Linked DNA regions of Homo sapiens: region 1 is linked to region 2. The links are contacts of gene promoters, found by promoter capture Hi-C in blood cells and fetal thymus (Javierre and others, 2016). All regions are on one chromosome and are shown on one strand. Each heading gives the region's core, a stretch centred on a gene start or on the middle of the fragment in contact. The rest is flanking DNA. Distances are from core to core; before and after follow the strand shown.

Region 1 (5,954 bases), core at 3,319-5,818, 350 kb before region 2:
TGTTTTCACGTTTTTGCCTCTTCTGTTCAGCCTTATCCCCGAGGGTTGTGGAAAATCTCCACGTACTCTGACAATAAGTAAGTGGATGTGTTAACAAGCTACAAGGAACTGCAGTTAGAAAGTTCATGATTTGTTGGCCGGGCACAGTGGCTCATGCCTGTAATCCCAGCACTTCGGTGGGAGGCCGAGGCGGGCAGATCACGAGGTCAGGAGATCGAGAGCATCCTGGCTAATACGGTGAAACCCTGTCTCTACTAAAAATACAAAAAATTACCCAGGCGTGGTGGTGCATGCCTGTAGTCCCAGCTACTCAGGAGGCTGAGGCAGGAGAATTGCTTGAACCCGGGAGGCAGTGGTTGCAGTGAGCCGAGATCGCACCATTGCACTCCAGCCTGGGCAACAGAGCGAGACTCCATCTCAAAAAAAAAAAGGAAAGTTCATGATTTGTTTTCTGGTTCACATTTCTGCTTCTAGCCCCCAGGGTAGTTGGTGGTAATTCTTATGTTTTCATTATAAGTGTTAACACTTGAGCAGTTATGTTTGCATTTGGAGCTCTATCTCTCCCCGTGATAGAAAATAAATGATTTGTAAATTTAATCATAACAGTTGAAATGCCATTGCATCTTAATTTATTCAGAGCGATTTAAACTAAGAACCCCTGGAGTACAAAATGTAAACAGAATCCCAGTTTATGAATTTTCACATTACTCTTCCTAAGGACAGTCACCTCTACTTTGACTTTATCCATGGCATGCAATCTCCTCTTTGATAGAGACCTCTGGGTGGAGACAGAAGGTACGTTCACCCCAGAGTTGGTGAATAAAGTCAGATCCTGAAGGTCGTGAGTTGAAACTCCAAGGAGTAAAGGCATGGGCCTGGGGAGGTAATGGGGACGGGCTCTGGAAAGGCTGGCAACACTGCAAATAGCTTTTCTTCGTGCTAACGTTGGAAGACATTTAATAAGATGGAAAAGGAAAAACGAGCAATTGACATGACTGCATGTATGTCAGCCACAAAAGCTGATACCTTCAAACCTCCCTGCCGCACTGCCTTCCTCCTATGGGATGGATCTCCCTTCTCCATGGCCCCTTCCTTCTACCCTAACCCCAGCCCCCTCCTGCCCTTCCTTGGTTCATTCTACCTTTTACCCTAACAGATGAAAGGCAATCCTTCAAGTCTTGGTAGGGACAAGCTGCCCTTCTAGTCAGATCAAGCTGTTCTGTCTTCTGCTCATTTCATGCACCTCCAAATAGGACCACGGGCAGCTTTTGCATCTGCTGCCCATGACCTGTGCTGGGAGATGAGTGTGCAGTGACTGAAAACCAGCATGTTCAAAATGTGAACGTGACCCAGACGGGTCCCCTCCACCTGTAGCACCTGTCCTCTCTCAGGGTAAGAGACTCGTGCACATAAATCCAAATGTACATGATTGTCATGACTGCAATTAGAGCCAAGTTTTGGGGAGGGATTTTAAATGAAAGAAAAGCATCCTCATTCTCACATATGATGTGCCTACAACTCAGGGCTGCGGGTAAGTGACCAGGCCATGACGTTGCATATCTTCTTCATTTTCAAACATAGACAACTAACTTATGGCACCAATTCTCTTTTTTAAAACATGGCAATTCTTTTGAGTAGTGGAATTAAAATTTGAATTTTAAAAGTTTTCAAGTCAATTGCTCAGCAACCAGCAACCTTACTCTTAGAGGTACCATCTCTAAATACAAACTATTCTGGCAATTTGTCTCAGGAAAAGGGTCAATTTTAAAAATTATTTAAAAGAAAATACAAAAATACAATTATCTCTCTCTTTGTATACATCACACACACATGCACACACACTAAGGAAGAAAACAGCTGCTTATAAAATGCTCTGGCAGTTTTATGTGCTATTCTCTAAATGTACACTTGACTGAAAGAGCAAGAATATAATGAATTATTTTAGAAGGTGTTTTTTATTAGATGCATATTTTCTTTCAAGCAATTTGTAACTTTCACATACATAAGAATATGCAAATACTAAGATGTCAGAATGTCTTTGACTTGGCCCAGAGGGTAGGGTCCTATGCTACTGTTGCACTCTCCACAACTTAAGAGCAAAAGGAAAGACATTTCCCTTCGTTGCTTCCTGCTGACAGCCACAATGCTCACCGTTCATATTCAGAGGCTGAGAAAGTCAGTAGCACCTCTTATTATTCTGACACCTTCATTCCCTGAGTAGTTCTCACCACTTACTATTCCCTCACCTTACCTGTACTATGATGGTTTTAGCCATCCCCCAAATTCAAAACAGTCTCAAGTATGTGCACAATCATATGAGACAGAACAGAAAAAAACCTCTCTCTCTCCCTTTGAAATGAATATACCCAAACACTAAGGGGTATATTCATTTCAAAGGGAGGGAGAGACGATTTTTTCTGTTGCTTCTGGTTTGTCTGGAGAAGGCATCTGGAATAAGTACCTAAGGCGCCCCCCCCACCCCCATTCAGTCTGAAATACGGAGGCTGGTAAATTGTACTTTTGTGGGTTTTAAGGCTCAAGGCAGCTTATTTCCAAATGAATATGTCCCTTCCCCCCTTTGCCTATTGACGGTTAAATGCAGAAAATGATACCTACACTTGTGTGCACTGGGCAGGCAGCATCTTAGTTTTTCAGGCTTCCCTCACCTCTATGGGACCCCTTTGCTCAATGCTTTGCTCAGTGCTATCCCTGAATGAGTAACTAAGAGTTTGATGCTTATTGAATGTGTAGTATGTGCTAAATGCTGCCTGTGGTTGCCTCATAGAATCCTCCCAACAACCCATGAAATGACTACTAGGTAATCAATCCTCACCTAGATCTCATGTGTGAGCTGAAGTATGTTCCTAGACCTCATACCTCGTGTATTCATAAATCTAGTCTCCTCCTGGAGACCCCTCAGTATTTCAGCTGGGATGGGAAGGAAATCTATGAAGTCAGAAGCATTCAGTGAAAGACAGCCTGGAGTCTGGGTGAGACTGTGTTCAAGCTCTGCAAACCAGACCCATCCTTTTACACCAATCCATCTTCTTCTTGACCTAAACCTCCTCCTCCTCCTTCTGTGCTTGATGTCTTTTCAAGGGTTTCTCCAATCTGCTTGAAGACTAGGGATTCTCTCTGACTCCTCTCTGACCCTCACTTCCAACCCAAATCCACCCCAGTTCTGCTGACTCTGCATCCTCATATGCTGCACGAATACCTCCCTCCTTCCCATCCTTACGAATACCTCCCTCCTTCCCATCCTCACGCCTTGAGCTTAGCAGAGGCCATCCTCACCCTGACCTGAGGGCTGTTGGTGGTCTCCTTGCCCTAAATGCTCATCCTTCCTGACCCTCCTTTGGCCACAGAGTAAACCTTCTGCAACACCAACCAGGATCTCCCTGCTCAGCTCATGACTTAGACGGAGCAATGCCGTCAAGGTTCTTCATGATCTAGCCTTGTCCTTCCTCCCCATGTCTTCCCAACCAGCTCTGTCTCCTTCTACAGCCAAGCTTGCCCATGCAGTGCTTGCAGTGAGGCTTCTGTCTTTGCCAGCAATAGATGATCCAACTCAAATTCCTTCTCATTTAAGAAGCTTCCCCAGCTCTCCCAGGCCACAAGTCTCTCGCCTGGTTCTAAGTCAGTGAAACTTATTAACCATACCTTGGAGGGGAAATCACACATGAAAAGTGTCATTTCTTTACTAATCATATTCATGTCTTTTCTCCCCATAGCAAGACAAAGACCTGTTTTAAACACATTTACAACCTATATGTTGCCTTGTACTAGGTAAAAAGTTGTACATTTCTGAAATAATTTTGGTATTTCTGTTCAGATCACTAAACTCAAGAATCAGCAATTCTCTGAGGCTTTCTTTTAAATATACATAAGGAACTTTCGGAGTGAAGGGAGAGTTTGTCAATAACTTGATGCATGTGAAGGGGAGATAAAAAGGTTGCTATTTTTCATCAACATATTTTGATTTGGCTTTCTATAATTGATGGGCTTAAAAGATCTAATCTACTTTAAACAGATGCCAAATAAATGGATGAATCTTAGACCCTCTATAACAGTAACTTCCTTTTAAAAAAGACCTCTCCCACCCCACCCCCAGCCCAGGCTGTGTATGAAAACTAAGCCATGTGCACAACTCTGACTGGGTCACCAGCCCACTTGAGTCCGTGTCACAAGCCCACAGATATTTCCTGCTCCCCAGTGGATCGGGTGTAAACTGAGCTTGCTCGCTCGGGAGCCTCTTGCTGGAAAATAGAACAGCATTTGCAGAAGCGTTTGGCAATGTGCTTTTGGAAGAAGACTAAGAGGTAGTTTCTGAACTTCTCCCCGACAAAGGCATAGATGATGGGGTTGATGCAGCAGTGCGTCATCCCAAGAGTCTCTGTCACCTGCATAGCTTGGTCCAACCTGTTAGAGCTACTGCAATTATTCAGGCCAAAGAATTCCTGGAAGGTGTTCAGGAGAAGGACAATGTTGTAGGGAGCCCAGAAGAGAAAATAAACAATCATGATGGTGAAGATAAGCCTCACAGCCCTGTGCCTCTTCTTCTCATTTCGACACCGAAGCAGAGTTTTTAGGATTCCCGAGTAGCAGATGACCATGACAAGCAGCGGCAGGACCAGCCCCAAGATGACTATCTTTAATGTCTGGAAATTCTTCCAGAATTGATACTGACTGTATGGAAAATGAGAGCTGCAGGTGTAATGAAGACCTTCTTTTTGAGATCTGGTAAAGATGATTCCTGGGAGAGACGCAAACACAGCCACCACCCAAGTGATCACACTTGTCACCACCCCAAAGGTGACCGTCCTGGCTTTTAAAGCAAACACAGCATGGACGACAGCCAGGTACCTATCGATTGTCAGGAGGATGATGAAGAAGATTCCAGAGAAGAAGCCTATAAAATAGAGCCCTGTCAAGAGTTGACACATTGTATTTCCAAAGTCCCACTGGGCGGCAGCATAGTGAGCCCAGAAGGGGACAGTAAGAAGGAAAAACAGGTCAGAGATGGCCAGGTTGAGCAGGTAGATGTCAGTCATGCTCTTCAGCCTTTTGCAGTTTATCAGGATGAGGATGACCAGCATGTTGCCCACAAAACCAAAGATGAACACCAGTGAGTAGAGCGGAGGCAGGAGGCGGGCTGCGATTTGCTTCACATTGATTTTTTGGCAGGGCTCCGATGTATAATAATTGATGTCATAGATTGGACTTGACACTTGATAATCCATCTTGTTCCACCCTGTGCATAAATAAAAAGTGATCTTTTATAAAGTCCTAGAATGTATTTAGTTGCCCTCCATGAATGCAAACTGTTTTATACATCAATAGGTTTTTAATTGCCTACATAGATGTCTACATTGAATTAACTCTCTTTTTGGCCAAGCAATGAAGTTTTGTAGTGAAGGGAAGGTTTGCTGCTAGCTTCCCTGTCCACTAGATGGAGAGCTTGGCTCTGTTGGGGGAATTCATGAAAGCACCATCTCACCAAATAAAATCTTGTGCTCTATAGCACCATGGAGTGAATGAAGCTTTGACAACAATTTTAAGAAACTGGGTCAAGCATGGTGCAGCTCAGCCTTTTTGTTGTTGTTGTTGTTGTTGTGAGACAGGGTCTCACTCTGTCGCCCAGGCTGGAGTGCAGTGGCACGATCATGGCTCACTGCAGCCTGGACCATCCCGGGCTCAAGCAATCCTCTCACCTCACCCCTCCAAGTGGCTGGGGACTACAGGCGCCACCACACCAAGCTAATTTTGTTTATTTTTATAGATACAAGATCACACTATGTTGCCCAGGCTGGTCTCGAACTCCTGGGCTCAAGCGATCCTCCTGCCTCAGCCTCCTAGAATGCTGGGATTACAGGCATGAGCCACCATGCCCGGCTGCAACTCAGTCTTAACATTTTTATTGACGCTAGAGTTAGCCCACAAAGAACATGCACTAT
Region 2 (5,984 bases), core at 2,755-5,254:
GTGCACAAAGTCCAGAGGGGGCCAAGGTGACAGGGCCTAGCATGTCAGCACTGCCCCAAGCATGCACACATCTGGCCAGGTTGCAACAGCACCCAAGCTTGGCCCCAACCTTACTCCAAGATCAGAGCAGGCAGTGACAGTGGGGAGAAGCCAAACAGCAGGAGCAGGTACTTCCAAGCCTGTGGGCAGCGGGGGACCTTCCCAGGCCCCCGACAGTGCAGAGATGCCTGGATCCATAGCTACAGCAGGGTGGCTGTAGCAGTGCCTTGGAGGGCGGGGCTCCTGCCTGTTCCTAGCTCCCAAGAGCACAGGGGTGCCCAAGTCACAGCCATGGCTTCAGCAGCTGCAGTTGTGCCTGGGGAGTTCCGTGTCCCACCAACTTCTAAGGGGCAGGGCTCCCATTTGTCCCCAGCTCCTGCCGGCTGTGTGGAGCATGCAGCCCCAGCCACACCTCCTCTCCGCATTTTCCCCACAGTGGTTCTGGGCAAGGTGCAGGTGGCGTGGTGGCCCTGGCCAACCCCGCACAAATGAACCTGACACTCCCAGGGCTAGCCCTGAAAGTCCCAGCTACACCTTTGGCCAGATACTCACAGGCTCCCAGAACACGGCAGGGAATGAGTTGAGGCTGCGGCAGAGGCTCCAGGCCTGAGAGTAGGTCCTGCCCGGCCATGCAAGGGTAGGGGTGGTGTGCAGTAAGCTGCCTCAGGGATGCAGGGCATGGGGATGCAGGGCACAGAGGTCCCACCACCCCCACTGCTGCTCCTGCAGCTGCTCCTGCCACCACCGCTCATGCCTCCCTGCTGCAGCTGGCATGATGGTAGCAGCTGCTCTGGATGGCCCACCACTGCCATTATTATCATATAATCCAATCACACTCCTAGTTATAATCGAGCTCAAAACTATGTGTAAACAAAAACCTGCATTCAAATACATATCGTGTATAAAATACTTTTTTATACATAGTGTATAGTGCATAAAGTATTTTTCATAATTTCAAAGAAATAGGATTAACCAAGATGTCCTTCAATAGGTGAAGGAATAAAAAAATCTGTGGTATTTCCATACAATAAACTCAAGAGATGCAGAATAAGCATTTAACAAAACCCAACATCATTTCATGATAAAAACACTCAACAAATTAGAAATAGAGGGGAATTTCCTAATCTGATAAAAGGCATGTATTAAAAACCCACAATTAACATCATACTTGTAGTGAAAGACTAGAAGCTTTTCTCCTAAGATCAGAAACAAGACAATGATGTCCATTGTCCTCTCCTATTTGACATTGCATTGGTGGTTCCAGCCAGGACAACTAAACACGGTGGGGGGAAAAGTACCCAGATTGGAAAGGAAGAAGTGAAACTATTTCTATATGCAGATGTCATGACTTTATAGTACATAGAGAACTGAAAGAATCCACCAAAAAAACAAAAACAAAAACAAAAAACTATTAAAGCTAATAAATAAGCTCAAGGTACAAGATCAATATATAAAAATCAGTTGTATTTTTATACAGTAGCAATGAACAATCTGAAAATGAAATTAACAAAACAATTCCATTTACAATAGCATAAAAATACTTAGGAATAAATTTAACCAAGAATGCACAAAATCTACTCACTGAAAACCACAAAACAATGTGGAAAAAAAACTAAAGAAGACATATGTAAATAGAAGGACTTTCAGTGTTCCCGGATTGGAAGACCCAATATTGTTAAAACGGCAATACTCCCCAAACTGATCTACAAATTCGATGCAATTTCCATCAAAATTCTTTTAAAATTTCTTGATAGTGTCCTTTGACACACAAAAGTGTTGTAGGTTTTTTAGCCCTTGCATCTGGCTCTTTAATCCATTTTGAGTTAATTTTTGTATATGATGTGAGGTAAGAGTACAACTTTGTCTTGTATATGACTATCTAGTTTTCCTGGCACCATTTGTTAAGAAGAATATTCTTTTAACACTGAATGGCCTTGTAAATGGTCTTGATTTTTGACCCTTGTCAAAAATCAGTTGACAATCCCAGCACTTTGGGAGGCTGAGGCAAGCAGATCACTTGAGCCCAGGAGTTGAAGACCAGCCTGGGAAACATGGTAAAACCCTGTCTCTATAAAAATTAGCCAGGCATGTTGGTGTGCACCTGTAGTCCCAGCTACTCAGGAGGCTGAAGTAGGAGGATCACTTAGGCCTGGGAGATTGAAGCTGCAGTGAGCCATGATCGCACCACTACACTCCAGACGGGGCAACAGAGTGAGAACCTGTCTCAAAACAAACAAACAAAAAATCAATTGACCATAGATGTATGGCTTTCCCCATTGTATTTCATTGATCTATATGTCTCCAATCTTGAATAGAAGAAAGAACAAAGTTGGAGGATTTGTGATTTCAAGACTTACTACAAAGGTAATCAAAACTCTATGGTACTGACATAAGGATAGATGCAAAGACCAATGGAATATAACTGAAAGTTCAGAGCTAAGCCATAGCTATAAATCCCTATAACCTGACTAGGCAAGGATTTCTTAACTACAACAGCAAAATCACAAGCAACAAAAGAAATAATTTATAAATTAGATTTCGTGAAAGTTAAAAACAGGTCAGGCATGGTGGCTCAGGTCTATAATCTCAGAGCTTTGGGAGGGCAAGGCAGGAGGATCACTTGAGGCCAAGAGTCCAAGATTAGTCTGGGCAATATAGTGAGACCCTGTCTCTACAAAAAAATTAAAATAATTAGCTGGATGTGGTGCTGTGTACCTATAGTCTTAGCTACTTAGGAGGCTGAGGCGAGAGTATCTCTTGAGCTCCAGAGTTCAAGGCAATAGTGAGCTGATCATGCCACTGAATTCAGGCCTGGGTGACAGAGTGAGGGCCTGCCTCAAAAAAAAAAAGGAAAGAAAAGAAAAAGAAGATGTAAAGCATTTGTGTGTCGAAGGGTATTATGAAGAATTAAAAAGAAACCCAAGGAATGAGATAAATTATTTTTAAATCATATCTCTGATAAGGATCTAGTATCCAGAATGTAGAAATAACTCTTACAATTTAATAATAAAAAGACTAATAACTCAAATTTTTAAAAGGCAAAGGTTCTGAATAGACACTTCTACAAAGAGATACACAAATGACCAATACACATATAAAAAGATGCTCAACATCTTTATTCATTAAGGATGTGGAAAAACTGTCTCCTACTGTTGCAGCTGTTTCACTCCTGTTGTTTGGTGAGTGGGAGGGAGTGTTACAGCTCTTTTACTCCCCCCACTGGTGAGCTCCAAGTTCTTGTCCCACGACCAAGAAAAATAAGGCACACAGACACTGGAGAGTGAAGAAGGCAGAGTTGGATTTATTAAGCCACAGAAAAGCTCTCAGCAAAGAGAGGGGACCCAAAAGAGGGTTGCTAGCTAAAAGTCTGAGTCACAGGTTTTTACAGGCTTAGAATGAGGAAATACGTGCTGATTGGTTTATGGGTAGGCTTGGAAAAAGCACTACTCAGGAAGAGGTACAATAGTGTAAAGAACCAATTGGGGGCTGAAGTGAAAGCTTGGACTGAGACCTTGGCCCAGGACCAATCAGGGGCTGAAGTGACGTTACACTTTATGCAAATGAAAATTTGGCGAGCAGCTAATCACAGAAAGATAGGTATATGTTAAACAGGTAAAAGGTAAGGACCAATCGGGAGGAAGCATGTGAAATGAGACAAAGGCGTGCCAAGGAGAGGGATATATGTTCAAAAAAGGAGTGGAATTTGTTCATCTGGATTCATGGAGTAGGCGTTTCTATTCAAACATGCAGGCTCTTTTCTTTATCCAGGGCTTGCAGCTTGATTTTCAGGCTGTTCTTGGTTTGAAGGAGTTCCACCAAGGATCCACCCTAACTGCCTGCCTGACTGGCTTCTTCCTTCCTCCTCTCTCACTAGCTGTCCCCCTCTGGCCCCCTGGCTCTCTCTGAGACTCCTCCCATCCTCCTCCTCCAGCCTTCTGGGCAGGACAGGTGTTTCAGTTTCTTTAAGTGAAATATGAAACAGAGAAGCACCATTTCTGCCTCAAGACGCATGTAAAGAGGTGTAGATTCAGGTGAGTTCCTTTACAAACATTTTAAACTTATGTTTTCCTCTAATTGTAACAGCCTATATCAGGAGTTCTTAAGCTTTGCTGCACATCAGAACCACCTGGAGGGCTAGTAAATATGCTGATTCCTGAGCTACCTCTGAAGGCTCTTATTCCTTTGGTATAGGGATTTCCCAAGAATCTGCATTCTTTTCAGAAAAGCTGATCTGGGCTGGGCGCAGTGGCTCATGCCTGTAATTCCAGCACTTTGGGAGGCCAAGGCTGGCAGATTGCTTAAGTCCAGGAGTTCCGGATTGGCCTGGCAGATTTCTTGAGTCCAGGAGTTCCTTACCTAACATGATGAGACCCTATCTCTGCAAAAAATACCCCAAAAAATTAGCTAGGTGTGGTAGCACACATCTGTACTACCAGCTACTCAGGAGGCTAAGGTGAGGGGATCACTTGAGCTCAGGAGGTTGAGATGTGATCACACCACTGCATTCCAGCATGGGTGATAGGGCGAGACCCTGTCAAAAAAAAAAAAAATCAAAGAAGAAAAATTGGCTGGGCGTGGTGGCTCCCACCTGTAATCCCAGCACTTTGGGAGGCCAAGGCAGGTGGATCATGAGGTCAGGAGATTGAGACCATCCTGGCTAACATGGTGAAACCCCGTCTCTACTAAAAATACAAAAAAATAGCCAGGTGTGGTGACGGGCACCTGTAGTCCTAGCTACTTGGGAGGCTGATTCAGGAGAATGGCATGAATCTGGGAGACGGAGCTTGCAGTGAGCCAAGATCACACCACTGCACTCCAGACTAGGGGACAGAACGAGACTCCATCTCAAAAAAAAAAAAAAGAAGAAGAAGAAAAATGGATCTGGGAACCATACTTTGAGTAGACCTAACATATAAATAATATTTTTCTTATGCTGAAAGAAGTAGAGAGGTTTATTTGGCTACATATCTTTATGTAAGGCCTTGTTATTACTGGTGGTTGTATAATTTAGAGCTGTCTTTCTCAATCTAAATTATATTACAGTCCAGAAAGCTAAATTCACTCCCTTAGAGTTGAGGTGGGCCACAGAGATGGGGAGGGAGAGAGACAACCAGCAAAAGGGAGCCAGTTCACTGAATGTAACTTGGAGGGGTTTGAGATTTGACATCATTTTCCTTTTTATCTCCAAAGGCTTCCAGGCCCAGAACATGACTGCCTCTGAAATTTTTGAGTAAATGAATTAATAACCAGCAAAAAAAATGAATGATTTTTATAGATGTCCAATATCCCTTTTATTTCTAATTTGCTGAGAGTTTATATCATCAAAGGGTGTTGAGCTTTGTCAAATGCTTTTCTACATTTATCAGAAAAGATCATATAGTTTTTTTCTTTATTCTATTGATATGGTGACTTAAATTGATTTTCATGTATTAAAACAATCTCATATTTCTGGGATAAACTCAACTTGGTCATGTTATATTATTCTTTTAAAATGTATTGCTGGATTTGATCTGCCAATATTTCGTTAAGAATTTTTCTGTCTATGTTCACGAGGAATATTGTTCTGTAGTTTTCTCTTATTGTAATTTGTTGGTCTAATTTTGGTATCAGGGTTATTCTGGCCTCATAAAAGGAGTTAGAAAATATTCCATCCTTTATTTCTATTTCTTATAGTTTGTGTAAAACTGGTGTTATTTCTTCCCCAAATGTTTAAAAAAATCACTAGAAAAATCCTCTAGTTCTAAAGTTTTCTTTGTGGTAAGGATTTATATAGTTAATTATATTTCTATAACAAATGTAGGGCTATTCACATTTGCCATATCATCCCATGTCAGTTTTGATATGCTGCATGTTAAAAGAAATTCATCCATTTCATTTAAGTTGTTGGATTTTTTAACATAAAATTGATCATAATATTTATTTGTTATTCTTGTAAAGTCTATAAG

The links. Contacts are between HindIII fragments. The CHiCAGO score rates a contact against its expected background, and 5 or more counts as called.
Region 1: a contact is called between a fragment that was not itself captured here and the fragment with the promoter of XCR1 in region 2, in 3 of 17 cell types (neutrophils, naive B cells and erythroblasts). The highest score is 7.6, in neutrophils.

The regions. Positions count from the first base shown.
Region 1 is chr3:46,372,189-46,378,142 of GRCh38, reverse strand. It overlaps CCR5 (C-C motif chemokine receptor 5), which reads right to left. Exons shown (of 2, transcript NM_001394783.1): 2 at 1,937-5,251. The coding sequence starts at 5,240. The coding sequence ends at 4,182. All of the region lies in intron 2 of CCR5AS (CCR5 antisense RNA), which reads left to right. Among named protein-coding and RNA genes, the nearest start is that of CCR5, 4.2 kb to the right of the region's middle. The HindIII fragment of the contact is 1,948 bases long and covers 3,595-5,542 here.
Region 2 is chr3:46,025,503-46,031,486 of GRCh38, reverse strand. It overlaps XCR1 (X-C motif chemokine receptor 1), which reads left to right and starts at 4,004. Exons shown (of 2, transcript NM_001024644.2): 1 at 4,004-4,070. RefSeq lists an enhancer at 166-666 and a silencer at 1,266-1,435. The HindIII fragment of the contact is 606 bases long and covers 3,540-4,145 here.